Regions from separate parts of the Homo sapiens genome. Here region 1 is linked to region 2. Evidence: promoter capture Hi-C in 16 types of primary human blood cells and fetal thymus (Javierre and others, 2016). All regions are on one chromosome and are shown on one strand. The core of a region is centred on a gene start or on the middle of the fragment in contact, and the rest is flanking DNA. Distances in the headings are between cores, read along the strand shown.

Evidence for each region. The method cuts DNA at HindIII sites, captures the fragments that hold promoters and counts their contacts. A CHiCAGO score of 5 or more calls a contact.
Region 1: a contact is called between a fragment that was not itself captured here and the fragment with the promoter of EGFR-AS1 in region 2, in 1 of 17 cell types (endothelial precursors). The highest score is 9.1, in endothelial precursors.

Annotation. Positions count from the first base shown.
Region 1 is chr7:54,992,691-54,995,390 of GRCh38, reverse strand. It overlaps LOC105375284 (a long non-coding RNA gene), which reads left to right. Exons shown (of 4, transcript XR_007060329.1): 2 at 1-662; 3 at 934-1,035; 4 at 1,583-1,732. Among named protein-coding and RNA genes, the nearest start is that of EGFR, 25 kb to the left of the region's middle. The HindIII fragment of the contact is 3,455 bases long and covers 1-2,700 here.
Region 2 is chr7:55,187,620-55,190,319 of GRCh38, reverse strand. It overlaps EGFR-AS1 (EGFR antisense RNA 1), which reads left to right and starts at 1,371. Exons shown (of 2, transcript NR_047551.1): 1 at 1,371-1,463. All of the region lies in intron 20 of EGFR (epidermal growth factor receptor), which reads right to left. The HindIII fragment of the contact is 13,947 bases long and covers 1-2,700 here.

The sequences.
Region 1 (2,700 bases), core at 100-2,599, 190 kb after region 2:
GAGCTCGGATGGGCAGCCAACCATGAACAAGAAGGACACGGCCACGTGCCACATGCACGGGAGGTAGGCAAGTGTGGAACACAGGAGAGTCATGAAGAACATGACTGTGAACTGTGATAGGCACTGGGAAGGAAACAGCAGGGGCTGAGAAACAGAATGAGGGCCTCAGGATGCTTCAAGCGAAGCCATGGAGGAAGGTTTTTCTGAAAATTTGATGTATAAGCTGCTATCTAAAGGGCATGATGGAACCAAGGGCAGTCGTCCTTCTTGGCATTCATTGATAGATGGAGCTATCTGTGGAGACCCCCGAGAAGCTACGGAGGTGCAGGTGTATTCGCCTCTACATTGATTCTACATCTGGGTGGCTATGCATTCACTAACTTATAATGTTTTTCTTTCCTTTTCATCATCTGCCAGGTGAGCAAGTCAATCATCACCTTTTAAACACTTGAGATTTCTAATCTATTTGTGGCTGAGAAATCTAACAATTGTGCTGGTTAGAATTACATAAGGATGACATTGGCTTTGGATGAGGTCTCTCCTGTGAGTGTCGTAAACCAAACTTCAGAGCCTGAGCTGTGTACTAGTGCACTCATTAAACTTCTCAGAGACCAGTTTTGTTCCTGAGATCTTGGTTAAGTTCTGGACAAGTGAGGTTCTAGGTAAGTGGCCTCTGGGCAAGTGAGGTGTTGCTGTGCAATCCTAAGCAATTATGACACAGGTTACCTTTGTAAATTAGGTGGCCAAAATCTGTAGGGCCCTAGGGTGTACGGGATTCACTGTAGGCCTGGGAGAGCCCTGGGCAAATGGACTGACGAGCTCTCTATCTGATGTGGTTTTCTGTCCCTCCACTGATGACTGCCCCTTCTCCCATGCGATAAGGTGTTCCTCCCTCGTCACCCAAATGAGGATCTCTATCTTTGCATTCTCCAGGACAGACACCCCAGCTTAGGAGCATTGTGTTTGATGTAAAAGGAAATGGGGTGGAAAAATATGCAAGTGTCTCATCTCTCCTGTCAAGTGCATGGCTACTTGGTAAGCACTGATTTAGAAACTTGGAGATCTTTTCCATGTATTTGACCTTCAGCTTGACTGGGCACACAGGAGAAGGAACAGAAGAAGAGTGTTTTTATAGCAACTTATCTTCCAGGGATGTCACTGTTTCAACTGAAATTAACTTTCCCCTCCCACAAGAGAGTTTGATGGTGGGTAAAAGGGAAGCAAATTCTAAAATGATTTTGTCTTTAAAGAGAATCAAGAGTGATTGTGGTTCCGAGGTCAGGAGGTCGAGACCATCCTGGCTTACACGGTGAAACCCCGTCTCTACTAAAAATACAAAAAATTAGCTGGGCGTGGTGGCAGGTGCCTGTAGTCCCAGCTACTTGGGAGGCTGAGGCAGGAGAATGGCTTGAACCTGGGAGGCAGAGCTTGCAGGGAGCTGAGATAGCGCCACTGCACTCCAGCCTGGGCGACAGAGCGAGACTCCATCTCAAAAAAAAAAAAAAAAAAAAAAGGAGTGATTGTGTTTCTTGCCTCTTTGTTATAGTATCTCTAACACAGGAGTCCTTTTTTATCATTGTAGATTACATCCTCTACCCCAAGAATGCCACCCTGCTTCAGATCACTCCACTCCAGGGCCTACTGGAGAGACAGAAGAATGTGGGAGAAATGCGAGCTTGAGATGATTTTGCTCTTGTTATTAAAATGCTCTTCTCATTGTGTGGTAAAATTACAGAAAATGTCTTTCTCTTCAGAAAACAAAGACTTCAGCCCCAAAGAGGGCCCAAGAGAGTTTTAGGACAAATTTGCATCTCTCTGGCAGGAACTATGTATGAATTCAAGACAGAAAAGGAATATTTACATAATGTATACTATATTTCTGTTATAGCTTTCCAGAGAGCTCCCTAGCAAGAACTGGGAAGAGGTATGAGGGGCAAGAAAGCTCCAAGCAGCCTCCCCTACTGAAAGCTAATTGTAGTGGCACTGATTGAAAGGTGGTGGAAGTTGTAGAAAGCCCTAGAGAGCAATCAACAGGCTTAGGGCAGGCTGACCCCAAGACCTTGGGTCACTGTGTGGCTTTGAGCAAATTGCGTAATCTATTTTGGCCCTAATTCTCTCTTTTTAAAAATGAGATTGCACACCAGCAACTGTTGTTGCTCTTTCAGCTTGGAAGTGCTGTCTTTGTGGGTAAATAAGGCATTTTTAAGGCTAGTCTAAATTTACAAGTGAACCTGTGGAGGCCCTGGAAATACACTTACATATTTCACATAGGACTACTGTAGTCACTACAATGAGAAAGAATTTCACTTCCTGCATTGGATCGGGTGGATTAGAGTTGGTGCATATAAAGCAGCTATGACATGAAAATATTCCACAGATGGTAGTCATTGTTATTTTTTTTTTTATTTTTTTTTTTAGATAGAGTTTTGCTCTTGTCGTCCAGGCTGTAGTGCAATGGCGCAATCTCAGCTCACTGCAACCTTCACCTCCTGGATTCAAGCAATTCTCCTGCCTCAGCCTCCCAAGTAGCTGGGATTACAGGCGCCCACCATCATGCCCAGCTAATTTTTATACTTTTAGTAGAAACAGGATTTCACCGCATTGGCCAGACTGGTCTCGAACTCCTGACCTTAGGTGATCTGCCTGCCTCGGCCTCCCAAAGTGCTGGGATTACAGGCATGAGCCACCACGCCCAACCTT
Region 2 (2,700 bases), core at 122-2,621:
CACGTCTCATGACTACATGGACTGTCCCCTCACCCTGCACTGCCGAGAGCGCTCCTACGGGTTTCCGATGCTGCTGGACGTTAGTGCTTCCCTGCCTACTTAAGAGGAAATGAGCAGGTTCTTCTCTGGACAACACTTCCAGATTAGGAAGTATTATGTCAGGATGGTGGGTGGAAAGGGAGAGGAGAGGGGGGGCAGAAGCCGAGGAAGCGCTTCCCAAAAGAGGACTGGCCCAGACTCCCTGCTACTCTGGCAGCCTGGGTCTCCTTCAGAGGCAAGCTCCCTGCCCCCGCTGTCTGCCTCGTTTGACTCCTGCGATGCTGACTTGCTCTCTGCCTGGTACCCTGTCTCTTACAGAGCAAGGCCTCTGTTTATTAAATATCATGAACTCCTGCCCATTCGAAAGGGAGAGTTAGGCTCAGCCTCTTGCTGGTTCAACTGAGTGTCTACCTTCTTGGCTGTGTGAACTCCCAGGCTATCTCCTCTTCTCTCTTCTCTGTCCCTTGATTTCTCACCCTCACCCTTGCTTTCTCCTTTCTTTCTACCCTGTTCGTTCTTCACATTTGTACCTTTTGTTCGTTCTTCACATTTGTTGAAGGCGTCCTCTGTGGTAGCTGTTGAGCAGGAGTGGCACAGGCCTACAGTAAAGAGCCACACACAAGTCCCCATGCAGAGGACCAGGAACCTCTCCCTTTCTCCCTCTCTATTTAAAATGCGTGGTTTCTACATATTCATTAAGCCCACAAGGAGGCCCTCAGAGCACATTCCCAGCTTCGTTTCACCACCACTGCTAACTTTCATTCTGCCTCTTTAAATGCTTAGCGGAGATTTTGGTATACTGGGCACATTTTTAAAACGGCCTGTTGAAGAATGAACAACTGAATGAATGAATGATTGAATGACTGGTGATAGCAGCTGACAGTGCTGAGCACTGGCGATGTGCCAGCCCTTTCACACACGTCCGTGCAGACACCTTTTCTATCCCAGTCCCCACACGACCACCTCGTTAGATGACCTGGGGTCCAGAGACTGAAGCATGTGGCTGCACAGACCAAATACCCTGAGACCCCAAGACCACTACTGGGACCATGGCTTTAATTGCCCTGCTGGGAAATGCACCTGCTAAGCCAGAGGCTGCTTGGGGTTTTATATATATGCATATGTGTGTATATATATATATGTATATGTGTATATATATATACACACACACACACACACACATTATGTGTGAGAGCATGAGACAGCGTGAGCATGCACCTTGGTCCCGTGCCTCTGGGGAAGTCCGCGTCACTCTGTCAATCTAACAAATCCAGCTGACCTCTGGCCCAGCCCTTCCCCACTCCTCACACCAGGGCTTTAAAGGACCTGAGCCATTTCTACACAGTGTCTGTTTCCTCAGAACACCGGTCTTCACCAAAGGCGTGGGAAAGGGCAGAGAGCACAGGACATATTCTGGAATTCAGGTAATCAGTTGGAGGGTTTTAAGTCAGAGACAGCTTTGGGACAAGGAGAGAATCCCATGTGAACTTAGAGGAGACTTGACGCATGGGTCTCCGTCCCACTGCCGGCACATTTGAAAGGACAACTCTGTGCCTGGCGCAGTTATGCTTTAACTGGTCCCCAAAGATAAGAGCTGCGATACGGCCTGTGAGCTCCCAGGGTCCGAGCAGAGGTCGCAGGAAGAAATATCAACAAAGCCTCAGCGGGGCCTCTCAGGAAACTCAGTTCCTGCTTCTTCTCCGAGACCCTCACTTTAATTGAAATTAAAATATTTATTTTTGTTAATTACTACAGGAAAACTGGAATGAATTTTGAAATACAGCACTGAGGTTAAAAGGGGATTTGAAAAGCCAGCCTGGAACTTCCACTTACAAAAAAGAAGGCTCTGCTCCACATGGCTGTCGGGGCTTATTCTGGCAGGGTACCCCAGAGTGAGGGGCGGGGGCTGTGTTTGACCTTGAAGGGCTGGGTGTTCCCAGGGGCTGCCGCACCCCACGAGTCTTGGGAGGAGTTCAGAGTGAGAGGCGGGAACTGGATTGTTTGTGTTCTATTTTGTAAATCTCCTGTGGAAGAGCTCATGGAGCAGTGACTTAGGAAGGAAGTGGAGGAGGGGAGGACGAGAAGGCCGCGTGGTTCTGGTGGAGTGGAGGGCTTTCCTATCAACACTATTCTGTTGTTGCTGTTGTTCAGAAGTATTTATTTAAAGCAAGATCAGAAAGAGGCTTAAGGTTCATCATCTTCAAAATAACCCACCTCTACCAGAACCATGCTGAGACCAAGACCACCATCACCCTTCCCCTGGGGGCTGGGGCTCACCTCTCACCTCCACTTTGGGCTGGTCCTGAGGCAGGCAAGGCCAGACACTCTTGGCCACAGCTAGGGAGAAGGTGAGGGGCCCCGCAGGGCTTTCTCAGGCCTCATCTTCCAGGATCCCCCTGTACAAATGATGGTGTTCTCCCCTCAACCTTTTAGCCCTTGGGGTGCTGGTGGGGAGGGCAGCCCCACCCCAGAGACCCACCTGCAACTGGTAGAGGTAAGGGATGGGGTTCAGGGGGGCTCTGAAACTACGGATCTGATGAAGTTTTTAAGCAGAGTGGTCACCAGGAGAAGCCTCCGCTCCTGTCTCTGGACTCCAGATCTCAGAGCATCTGTGGCCTTGAGCTCCCTAAAAAATGGAAGAGTCTGTTCCTCAGGCCAGCT